3 separate regions of the Homo sapiens genome follow, and all the other regions are linked to region 2. The links are contacts of gene promoters, found by promoter capture Hi-C in human tissues and cell types (Jung and others, 2019). All regions are on one chromosome and are shown on one strand. The core of a region is centred on a gene start or on the middle of the fragment in contact, and the rest is flanking DNA. Distances in the headings are between cores, read along the strand shown. Region 1 holds the start of PSMB4 (proteasome 20S subunit beta 4). Region 2 holds the start of LYSMD1 (LysM domain containing 1). Region 3 holds the start of SELENBP1 (selenium binding protein 1).

The links. The method cuts DNA at HindIII sites, captures the fragments that hold promoters and counts their contacts. A contact is called where the count stands out against the background at its distance.
Region 1: a contact is called between the fragment with the promoter of PSMB4 here and the fragment with the promoter of LYSMD1 in region 2, in 1 of the 25 tissues and cell types used here (heart right ventricle).
Region 3: a contact is called between the fragment with the promoter of SELENBP1 here and the fragment with the promoter of LYSMD1 in region 2, in 2 of the 25 tissues and cell types used here (liver and stomach).

What each region holds. Positions count from the first base shown.
Region 1 is chr1:151,397,295-151,400,961 of GRCh38, reverse strand. It overlaps PSMB4 (proteasome 20S subunit beta 4), which reads right to left and starts at 1,389. Exons shown (of 7, transcript NM_002796.3): 1 at 1,235-1,389; 2 at 775-981; 3 at 374-520; 4 at 117-198. The coding sequence starts at 1,374. RefSeq lists a silencer at 662-819 and enhancers at 588-1,309, 1,660-1,709, 1,310-2,032. The HindIII fragment of the contact is 13,788 bases long and covers 1-3,667 here.
Region 2 is chr1:151,163,923-151,167,526 of GRCh38, reverse strand. LYSMD1 (LysM domain containing 1) reads left to right here and starts at 1,625. Exons shown (of 3, transcript NM_212551.5): 1 at 1,625-2,448. The coding sequence starts at 2,269. It overlaps TNFAIP8L2-SCNM1 (TNFAIP8L2-SCNM1 readthrough), which reads right to left. Exons shown (of 7, transcript NR_144937.2): 2 at 986-1,056; 3 at 505-593; 4 at 309-406; 5 at 113-201. SCNM1 (sodium channel modifier 1) reads right to left here and starts at 1,383. Exons shown (of 7, transcript NM_024041.4): 1 at 1,324-1,383; 2 at 986-1,056; 3 at 505-593; 4 at 309-406; 5 at 113-201. The coding sequence starts at 1,374. RefSeq lists enhancers at 1,335-1,384, 731-1,437, 1,405-1,684, 1,438-2,143. The HindIII fragment of the contact is 12,820 bases long and covers 1-3,604 here.
Region 3 is chr1:151,370,649-151,374,062 of GRCh38, reverse strand. SELENBP1 (selenium binding protein 1) reads left to right here and starts at 1,358. Exons shown (of 12, transcript NM_003944.4): 1 at 1,358-1,425. The coding sequence starts at 1,422. RefSeq lists enhancers at 837-1,420, 1,421-2,004, 2,751-3,414. The HindIII fragment of the contact is 19,764 bases long and covers 1-3,414 here.

The DNA of each region.
Region 1 (3,667 bases), core at 140-2,639, 230 kb before region 2:
CCAGTAATAGCGATCCCAGCCCATCCCTCATATCAGAATTTCAGGAGAAAAGCAGACAACCACTAATCCATTTCCTTTTGTCTTCCCTTTCCCCCACCTCTAGACTTACTACTTACCTGAGCCAAGTATGCACCATAACCAGTGGCCAGCGAAGGGGCTTCATAGGCTACACCAAGCATGTCCACATAACCGAGGAAGCTAACAGGACACAATGGGTCAAAACTCATTTCACCTTAGATTCATCTTAGCTGAAGAAGGGGACCATGGGGTCTGAGTTAAAGTGGGATTCACTTGGGGAGAAGAGACAGAAGAGATACTACACAGGTACTAGGTTGGGTGGTAAAGGAAATAAGTTATTTGTATTCATATGAACCTCTCTCCATCAGCATAGCCTCCGATGACCATGGTGTTCCACAAAGGGTTCATCTTCGAGCGCCGGCTGTACATGGCCCTGGTCAGCCATGAATGAATAGCTCTAGGACTATAGCTGTGTCCATCTCCCAGAAGCTCCTCATCAATCCTTAAAAGGAATTGGTTGTGAGAAAAGGGAGAGAATTAAGTCGGGGTCTCCACCCATCCCCAAAAGAAGTTACCACACCTTCCCCCATTTTACACCTAATGCCAAAAACTTTATTGCAAACACAGATCGCCCACCTCCAACAACTCTTCCAGTCCCCCGCTGCAACAAGTCCCCCCATCCCATCGAAGGGAATAAAAAACAGGGGACTCCCCTCTCTACTTGGGAACCACTCTCCTGTTCTCTGGATGACTTACACCATCTGGCCGAGAACTTGCTTCAAATACTGGAAATCAGCGTAGTCGCCAGAGGCACCCAGCATGGTACTGTTGTTGACTCGCATAATGCGAGAGATGTTGCGGAAACGAGCCAAGGAGCCGTAGGATCCCAGCATGTCTGCGGCAATCACCACTCCGCCCTCGAACTTAACGCCGAGGACTGAGGTCCCGGTCACCATGGGGTTCCTAAAGAGTGAGAACGGTGGGAGCTGAGAGGGGGGATGGACTGCGCCCTCTTTCCGCGCACTGAGCTGCGCTTCTGATTTTCTATAATTCCTTCCAATTATTCTGCATTCTCCAGGACTCCGCGCCCTGAGCTCCCCTGCCGTTCGCGCGCCCCCGGGGTCCCCGCCTCACCTTCCCGGGCTCTCAAAACCAGCCGGCAGCACCAGGCCCCACGGTCCCTCCCGCTACGCAAACGAAAGCGCCGAGAACTTACTGGGTCCGCGTGATTGGACCTCTGTAAAGTGCAGACGCCGGATCCATGAAGGAATCGGGAGTGGACGGAATGCGGTAAAACTGTCCTGGGGCCGGACCCCCCGCCCAAAGTCCGGACCGCGACCCCAAAAACGCTTCCATCTTAGTCACGGTAGCAGAAAAAATGAAAGCGCTTGCGCCAACGGAAGCGGAAGTGATCCTTCAGTGTCATTTCTTTCTTTTTCCTGTAGACGACTTCCAGCAGCCATGTTGATGAGGTCGTAGCTGAACATGCAGTAATCCTAGGTGGCGACCGAGACAGGGAGTTGAAATTGCCCAACATCGCTTCGCATCGCATCGCATCTCCGTGGAGTTTGGACCAGATCACAGCGTTCTAACACACGATTCAAGGAGGAGGGAGGCATGAAGGTGGGGTGGGGAGGTGGCCACTTAAAGACGCTGATCCTGAGTGAGACGTCACAATTTTTTATTTTATTTTTTATTTTTTTGAGACGGAGTCTCGCTCTGGCCCCCAGGCTGGAATGCAGTGGCGCGATCTCGGCTCACTGCAACCTCCGCCTCCCAGATTCAAGCGATTCTCGTGCCTTAGCCTCCCGAGTAGCTGGGATTACAGGCGCCTGCCACCACGCCTGGCTAATTTTTTGTATTTTTGCTAGAGATGGGGTTTCACCATGTTGGCCAGGCTGGTCTCGAACTCCGGATCTCAGGTGATCCGCCTGCCTCGGACTCCCAAAGTGCTGGGATTACAGGAGTAAGCCGCCTCGCCCGGCCTAGAAGTCACAGTTCTCATGTTCCTTTTGTATCATTATCAAAAAGCCCACATGAAAATATCAGTGAACACAGGATCTCTTACATCTGTACTCCTCAGAGCAGCCCCATGTGGCAGGCATTATTCGACCCATTTGGTAAATAGGAAACCGAGGCTTGCGGTGTAGTGATTTACCCAGTCACACAGCCGATAACGGTAGAACTGAATCTTGAAGCTAGAATAAAAAAAGGAATCAGGGCCGGGTGCGGTGGCTCATGCCTGTAATCCCAGAACTTTGGGAGGCCAAGACGGGAGGATCACTTGAACCCAGGAATTCAAGACCAGCCTTGGCAACATGGTGAGACCTCACCTCTACAAAACAAAACAAAACAAAAAATTAGCCAGGCCTGTAATTCCAGCTACTTGGGAGGGTGAGGTGGGAGAATCGCCTGAACCCGAGGGAGGTTGCAGTGAGCCAAGGTGGCGCCACTGCACTCCAGCCTGGGCAACAGAGCGAGACCCTGTCACAAAAAAAAAAAAAAAAAAAAAAAAAAAAAGAATACACTTGTGTATACCCTGTGGGGTGTGATAGCTCAGGTGGATCAAGCACTCTCTGTGGGACCTTAGACAAGTCTGAAAGTTTCCTTATTGTCAAGGGCCCTTGCCCACCTCTAAAGAAACAGAAAAATTCCATTGGAAGTGTAGGGGTGAAACTAAATTCCAGGGGTTTCCTTCTCAGTGTAACTCCATAGCAGGGGCTGGAAACTGTCTTGAATCAAACTGGTGAATTTTGTCAAAGATAAACAAAGCCGGACACTAAAGTGGAAAGGACAGATTTCAATCAGTAATAACTACTACAATAAGGAAAAACAGTTCAGCATGAACTGAACTCAACTGCAATTTGTATGCAAGTAATGGGTATTTTATAGGGAAAATGAGGTTAGGGGACAGTGAGACAGAGGGTCAGTAGAGTCAGGGAAGTGAACATTTACAGAATTAGTCAATGTAAATGTGCTTAGGTCAATGATGTCTGCTAGCTGGCATTTATGGAAGTTAGGATTCCATCCTCCCACAGAGACTGGTGAGGATACCATCCTCAACACTGTCCTTAGGTGTCTTTTGTTTGTTTGTTTTTTGAGACAAGGTCTGGCTCTGTCACCCAGGCTGGAGTGCAGTGGCATGATCTCGGCTCACTGCGACCCTTGCCTCCCCGGCTCCAGCGATCCTCCAGCTGCAACCTCTCGAGTAGCTGGGGACTACAGATGCCACACCCGGCTAATTTTTGTTTTTGTTTTTTTTCTTTTTTTCTTATTTTGAGAGGGAGTCTTGCTCTGTTGCACAGGCTGGAGTGCAGTGGCACGATCTCAACTCAAAGCAGCCTCCGCCTCCCTGGTTCAAGCGATTCTCCAGCCTCAGCCTCCTCAGTAGCTGGGATTACAGGGGTGCACAACCATGCCCAGCTAATTTTTTTTTTGTTGTTGTTGTTGTATTTTTAGTAGAGATGGGGTTTCATCACACTGGCCAGGTTGGTCTCAAACTCCTGACCTCAGGTAATCCTCTCACCCCAGCCTCCCAAAGTGATGGAATTACAGGCGTGAGACACCACGACCGGCCTAATTTTTGTATTTTTTTGTAGAGACCAGGAGAGATCTCACCATGTTGCCCAGGCTAGTTTCAAACTCCTGA
Region 2 (3,604 bases), core at 376-2,875:
CTAAGTAACATCTCCAGAACACTAGTATTCCTCAGAATACACACTGGAAAACTCTTTTAGAGCCATCTGTCTCCTTCTGAGCCTTCCTACCTCTGGCTTTCCCGTCCCATACCTGTACTTCCGGCGGCAGCAACTGTTATAGTGGGGAGCTCTGTGCAGAGCACTCTGGGTGATAAGTCGTGTCTGAGTTAGCAGAGGAGCCTGGTAAGGAGATGGGAGACAGAGTCAGAGCCTTCAGCCCTCCGCCCTTCCAGCCTGGTGTGTGCAGCAGGGTCTTGCCTAGAACACACTCTCCACTCTCTGATTACCTCAGCTTTGGTTTCTTCCCTTCTCAATTCATTCTGATGTTTTGGATTCTGCTTTCTTTCCTTTCCCGGCTGCTTCTTGCCATAGAAAAGCTGCAAGCCTGAGGAGAAAGGGAAACAGAATTAAAAGCATAGCACCAAGAGTGGTGTGCAGAGATTTCGAGGGTTTATTCCCCATCCCGTCTTCCCCCTAACTTACTGGACAGATGTTTCTTGCCTGCACGGTGGGCAGTCAGCATGGCCAGGGTGTCCAGTACCGGTCGATGGGGGCAGATGGCACAAGCAAAGCTGAGCAGGGGTAGAGAAGAGGATAAGTGGTCCAGGGGAAGAGGGTTGGGCCCGTCCCTGCCATAGGTCCCACCCTGTCCTAGCAGTCTTTGCAAAACCCAACTCCCTGGTGACCCAATCTCCACTTCTTCCAGTCCTCACTGGCCGCCAAAGAATCCTAGGTACTCCTGCTGTCCTAATTAATAACAAAAGTTTGTTGAAGCCAGGCGTGGTGGCATGCGCTTGTAAACCCAGCTAATCGCGACGCTGAGGAGGCAGGATCACTTGAGCCCTAGAGTTCGAGGGCAGCCTGGGCAGCACCGCGAGACCTCCGTCTCAAAGGAAAAAAAAAAAAAAGTCTATTGAGCCTCTAACCGCAGAACCCTCAGGCTTGAGCCACTCCTTGCTCTTACCGTCCATCCCGAAGCATCAGCGCCTCATCCTCTGGAATGTAACTGGCTAGGAGGTCCCCGACTCTTCTTTTCTGCAGGGAGTAGGGGAAGAAATCCGGACGGGATCAGCGGGATAGGAGAGAGGGGTGGAAGTGAAATTATAGAAATGAGGAGTGAAATGGAATAAGGACCCTGGGGAGAACAGCGATCATAGACCGAAAAAGGAGTCACTACACAGCTCTAAGTCGCCTGGTTCTCTCCTGCACCCCCGAGTTGTTGCCAGAGCAATGAAACAAAGCTCCTTCCCAACCTTCAGGGAGCGACTGAAGCGGCTCCAGATCCTCTCCGCTCACGCTTACTTTGAGCACATTGAGTTGACTCCAATCGTCTCCTTCCCTCTTGAAAGACATCACGACTGTGAGTCCCAGAAGTGATAAATTCTCTGTTCCGGTTTCGCCACTCCTCCAGGCCACCGTAGCAAGAGCGGGACAGCGCCTTCTCTTTTTTCCTTCTCTTCCTGTCGGCCTCCGTACTTCCGGGGACGCACTTCCACGCATGCATTGCGCGATCCGGAAATCCACTCTCTGGTGCTCGGAGGGAACTGCATTTCCTATGGTGCCCTGCGACTCCGCAGACGCGGAGCCTTTTGGGAAATGAAGTCTTTTCTCAAAGACCTTGCCGCTCAACTGGATCCAGGCCCTTGCATCTTGGCGGATCTGAGGCGTTTGGAGGGACAACAACCTAGATGTGGAGCCGAAATTTGAGGGTGTGACCTATCTTATGCGGAGCGGACCTTTGAGGATCTCTGAGTGGAAGGTGTACTACAAATTCTTGCAATCCTCACGCTCTTCGTCTGCGGCGACAGTTCACCTGGGGTGGGCCTGATTTGTTCCTGACTCTAGCAAACAAACCCCGGGACCGGGGAGAGCTGGGATGTTGGAGCGCCCTGAGGCCAGGCTACTTGGGGGCAAACTGAGGAAAGAGTGTTGAGGATTATTTCTAGAGTTCAAAGGTCAGAGGTCAATGTAGCGAGGAGTTGTGGGGGAGTCCAAAGTCGGAGGGGTGCTTAGGGGAGAATTAGGGAGGGACTGAATACTCAAGGGACAGATTTGTGGATAAGTAGCTTGGAGGGAGGAGAAACCGGGAGGGGGCAGATGGCGTAGTGCTGGGGAGGCGGGGACACAGGGGAAGAGAGAGGGGGAAAGGAATCCCCTGAATATTCATTCCCAGACTTCAGGCCTGTCAGTCGCAGTCTCGGTCGTACCTCCCCTAGTTGCAACCTTAGCTGTTGGCAGGGTGAAGAGATGGCTTCCCCGTCTAGACAGCCCCCGCCAGGGGGGTCAGGACTGCTTCAAGGGAGCCGGGCTCGTTCATATGGAAGCCTGGTGCAATCGGCCTGCTCCCCAGTGAGGGAAAGACGCCTGGAGCATCAGTTGGAGCCCGGAGACACCCTGGCTGGACTAGCACTCAAATATGGGGTGACGGTGAGTTTTCCAGGATTGGGGTGAAGACAACAGTCAGGAGGGATTTAGTCCTGAGAAGAATGTAGTGGCCCTTCTAGGTAACCTCCCCTGAAATGTTCCTAATGTGTTGCACTCTGTTCTGCCTTTATCTTTGTTTTCCCATCACAGTGTTGCACAAGTCCTGCCCTACTATTCCAACGGAGAGGAACAGCTCCTATTTTATTATGCCAGACACTGTGCTGAGGGCTTCACATACGTTAGCTCATTTCACCCTCACATCTGTATCAAGTATACATTTATCGTTCCCTTTTGGCAGATGAAGAAACTGAGACTTGGATTGGTTAACCAGTTTGGCTAAGGTCAAATAATGAGCGTCAGATTTGGGATTCAAACAGGTCTGTCTGACTCTATTAACCACACAGAAAATTTTATGTTGAGAGTGATTAAACGTTTACAGCAACTAATGGAGAGCTGATTTTTAGTTCTCAGTTCCTAAAGTGCCCACCTCTCCTTGCTCTTGGTTCCTCCTCAATGCTCTGCCTTCTTTCCAGTAAGGTGGCCTCCTTTGTGCAAAACAGGTACTCTACACCAAGTATTTCAGGTCATGCATGGGGGAAATTGGATAGATGTAAAAATGTACAGCATTGAAGTTGATGGGGTTACTCCCCCTATCCCTGCCCCTGTTTTCTTGTTCCATCTCACTCAAACAAATGTTGAATTTAGCCAACATTTTTATGCTTGCTGTATTTAAAGCACTGTGATAACTTTTCTGGGAGATAGAAACTTAAACTATATGGTTGCTGTCCTCATGTAATTTATGGCCTAATGAGAAATGAACAGGGACACAAATAATGATTACAAGTGACAGAATGTGGTGAGTTTGTAAAGGTATTAACAACGAATAGGGGTCAGGCATGGTGGCTCACCCCTGTAATCCCAGCACTTTGGGAGGCAGAGGCAAGTGGATCACCTAAGGTTACGAGTACGAGACCAGTCTGGCCAACATGGTGAAACCCTGTCTCTACTAAAAATACAAAAATTAGCCGGGCGTGGTGGTGCTCACCTGTAATCCCAGCTACTCAGGAGGCTGAGGCGGGAGAATCGCTTGAACCCAGGAGGGGGAGGTTGCGATGAGCTGAGATCGCACCACTGCACTCCAGCACTCCAGCCTGGGCAA
Region 3 (3,414 bases), core at 109-2,608, 210 kb before region 2:
CTTCCCCGTGGGGCAGCTGCACACACAAGACTCTCTTTGATGCCTGGCAGGCTGATGGCACAATGGTGAGGATAATAGATGCAGGATGGAGCCAAGAGGGGTTGAGTGGCGCTGGGGATAAGAGAAGACCCTTGCCCCGGGCAGCCACAGGGAGTCTTCCTTGATGGGCACATGATCCCTCACTGATGGGAGCCAGGAAGACAGATACCCAATGCACCAAGGCCCAATTTTGCTCCCCTTCCCCCACTCTGGTTTGGAAACCCTGTATTCTACTTGCAATCTCAAGCCCAGACTTTATTCTTTTTCCTAGCCAATAAAAACTTCACCCCAGAGCTTTTATCCAAAGAGTATGAATATCTGGAATAAGAGGGCAATCTTAGGGAAGAAGTGACCCTGGCTGATGGGCCCACAGTCCCGGGTGCCCCTAAATGCTAAGAGACAGGTCCAAATACAAAGACGAGCATTTGGAGACACAGGAACACATACGTGCGCAGGCTTACACAAGCACATGCACAGCCACATAGCCACACACTACACATACACAAGCACTTATGCACATGTCCACACAGGCGTAGATACTCTAGCAAGCACATACTCACAGAGGCGCGCACACACACACACACACACACACAGGCGTAGATACTCTGGTAGGCACATACAGAGGCGCGCACACACACACACGCACAAATACACACAAGCACACTCACAGGCACATTCACACACGTGGAAATTCACACACAGGCACAGATACACACTCATGCAGGCACGTGCACGAGCAACACGCAGGTATACAGGAACACACACATGCCCAGACACACAAATCCACACACACCCAGGCACCCACTAAAGAGCACGAGCTGGTCAGGGGCAGCGGCTCACACCTGTGATCCCAGCACTTTGGGAGGCCGACACGGGTGGATCACCTGAGGTCAGGAGTTTGAGACCAGCCTGGCCAACATGGTGAAATCCCTTCTCTACTAAAAATACAAAATTGCTGGGCATGGTGGTGGGTGCCTGTAATCCCAGCTACTCGGGAGGATGAGGCAGGAGAATCACTTGAACCCAGGAGGCAGAGGTTGCAGTGAGCCGAGATCGCACCACTGCACTCCAGCCTGGGCAAGAGTGAGACCCTGTCTCTAAATAAATAAATAAATAAATAAAGCACAGGCTCCCACACATACACACTTAAACACATACACGCACACCCCATAATTCAAACACCAGTTGCCCTAGGCCACTTGAGAGTATCCTGGCCAGCTGCCCTGAGTAGTTTACTCTGGGCTACAGCCCGGGCCCTCCTCCTTCTCTGCCCCACCCCCAGCTGGTTGTATAAATTCCCTCCCTTCGCTCCTTCCCCGGAACAGCGGCCTCTGACACCAGCACAGCAAACCCGCCGGGATCAAAGTGTACCAGTCGGCAGCATGGGTAAGGAGAGGGGTTTCCAATCACCCATTGCCTGCTCTGTCTGCCCCTAATTTGGAAGGCCCTCCTCCAGAAAATGCTAGAAAACCTGAGTGGGGAGCTGGGGAGGGAGTAGTGGACTCTGCTTCATTGTCCCCAGTCTGCACACCCCCTCCCCCACCACCCCACTGCATTTCCCAGCTCAGCCAAACTTTCTGAGGAAGACGGGCAGAGGCACTGCTGGGAGATGGGATCCTGGGCCCTGACTTGGCTCCATCCAGCAGAGGCTGGGACCAGGGTGCCTTTCTGCAGCTGGGAAAATCAGATGGGCGCTCTTAGAAAACACCACTAGGTCCCTGGCCCTCACATAGTAGAGAGGTGATCCTGATTTCAGCCATGGGCCAACTTTGTACTCCAGCGAGGTAGGGAGTCCAAAGCCTTTCTGTGCCCAGGTCACTCTCTAGCTACTCCACACAGCAAAGCTCTCTGGGAGGGAAATCAGAGACCCCCACACTCTTTCACTGGGGACCTGTTTCAATGCCTCCCCCACCCCTAAATCCCCCTTGGCCCTGCTATTCCTCCATCTGTAGGCTTCTGGGTGACAGGCTAAGAAGGAACTGAGGTTTGGTTGGGAGGTCCTTCCCCGCTCGGGGCTGGCTCTTGAGCTGGCAGAATGCCGAGCTGGCAGAATGCCCAGCAGCCAGCCTGACATGGAAAACCCACTTGAGCTTTCCATGAGTCCATCCCAAACCCAAAGCTGCTCCGAGACCTTGCTTGAGATGTTTCAGATGGGGGTATTCCCCAGAAAGAGGAATGATGCTCCCTGGGGCTGCAGTGGCATGCCAGGCCTGACCCTAAGAAATGCTGGGGCTGGGGTTGCTGGGGTGTGGGGTGGGCCGAGGCTGCAGAGCGGGCAGCTCCATCTCTGCACTTTTACTTCCCTCTCAGCTTCTCCCTAGCTTTGTATTTTTTGTATCTCTGTCTTGAGGTCTTGGAGTTTTAAAATCTCCTTTCCCTTCTGTATCCAGCAACCTCCTTCCCCACCCCCTGTCATCTGGTGCCAAGCCCCGACTTAGCAAGATTGTGTAACAGAACCAGTCTCCTTAACTCCTGTGAACTGGACCTCTCTCTCTCTCCCTGCCCCACCTCCAGCCCTCTCGCTGGGCATCGAGCACTCCCTGGCATTCTCCTCTCCTCTGGCACAGCCCTTCCCATATTTACACAGTAATTCATTATTTTTTTTTTTTTTTAGTCAGAATTTCACTCTTGTTGCCCAGGCTGGAGTGACTGCAGTGGCGTGATTTCGGCTTACTGCAGCCTCCACCTCCCAGGTTCAAGTGATTCTCCTGCCTCAGCCTCCCAAGTAGCTGGGATTACAGGTGTATGCCTGTATTTTTTAATACAGGCTAATTTTTAATACAGGGTAATTTTTGTATTTTTAATAGAGACAGGGTTTTGCCATGTTAGTGAGGCTGGTCTCAAACTCCTGACCTTAGGTGATCTTTCCGCCTCAGCCTCCCAAAGTGCTGGGATTACAGGCATGAGCCACCGCACCCGGCCTAATTCATTTTTATGAAAGGCCTTTGGAATACATTGTCTTATTTGTCCTCCATATCTACCTAGCAAAGTAGGTAGAATATCATTATTGCCCACTTTTCGTAAATGAAGAGGAGAAAATGGAGAAACGGGGCGTCAAAACTGGGACTTGAAACCAGGTTTCCAGACTCTGAACGCTGTTGCTGCCTCTCAGCTTCCTAAGTCTCTTGGCTGCTGCGAGTGGGAGTCCCAGGCCCCAGTGGAGGCCCCACTCTGCCTACTCCTGGCTCCCCACTTGCGGCCCAGCTGTGAAGGCAGAGGCTGGACTGGCCACAGGACAAGGCAGGAGACAGGGCCCAGGCCTGTGGACTCCACTCCAGGGTTTCTTTCAGCCTGCCACCCCCTCTGGGTATTCTTTAACCCCTGCTCCCCAGCAGGCCCCAAACTCTGATGCTGGGGTGCTGGTAGCTGTGATGT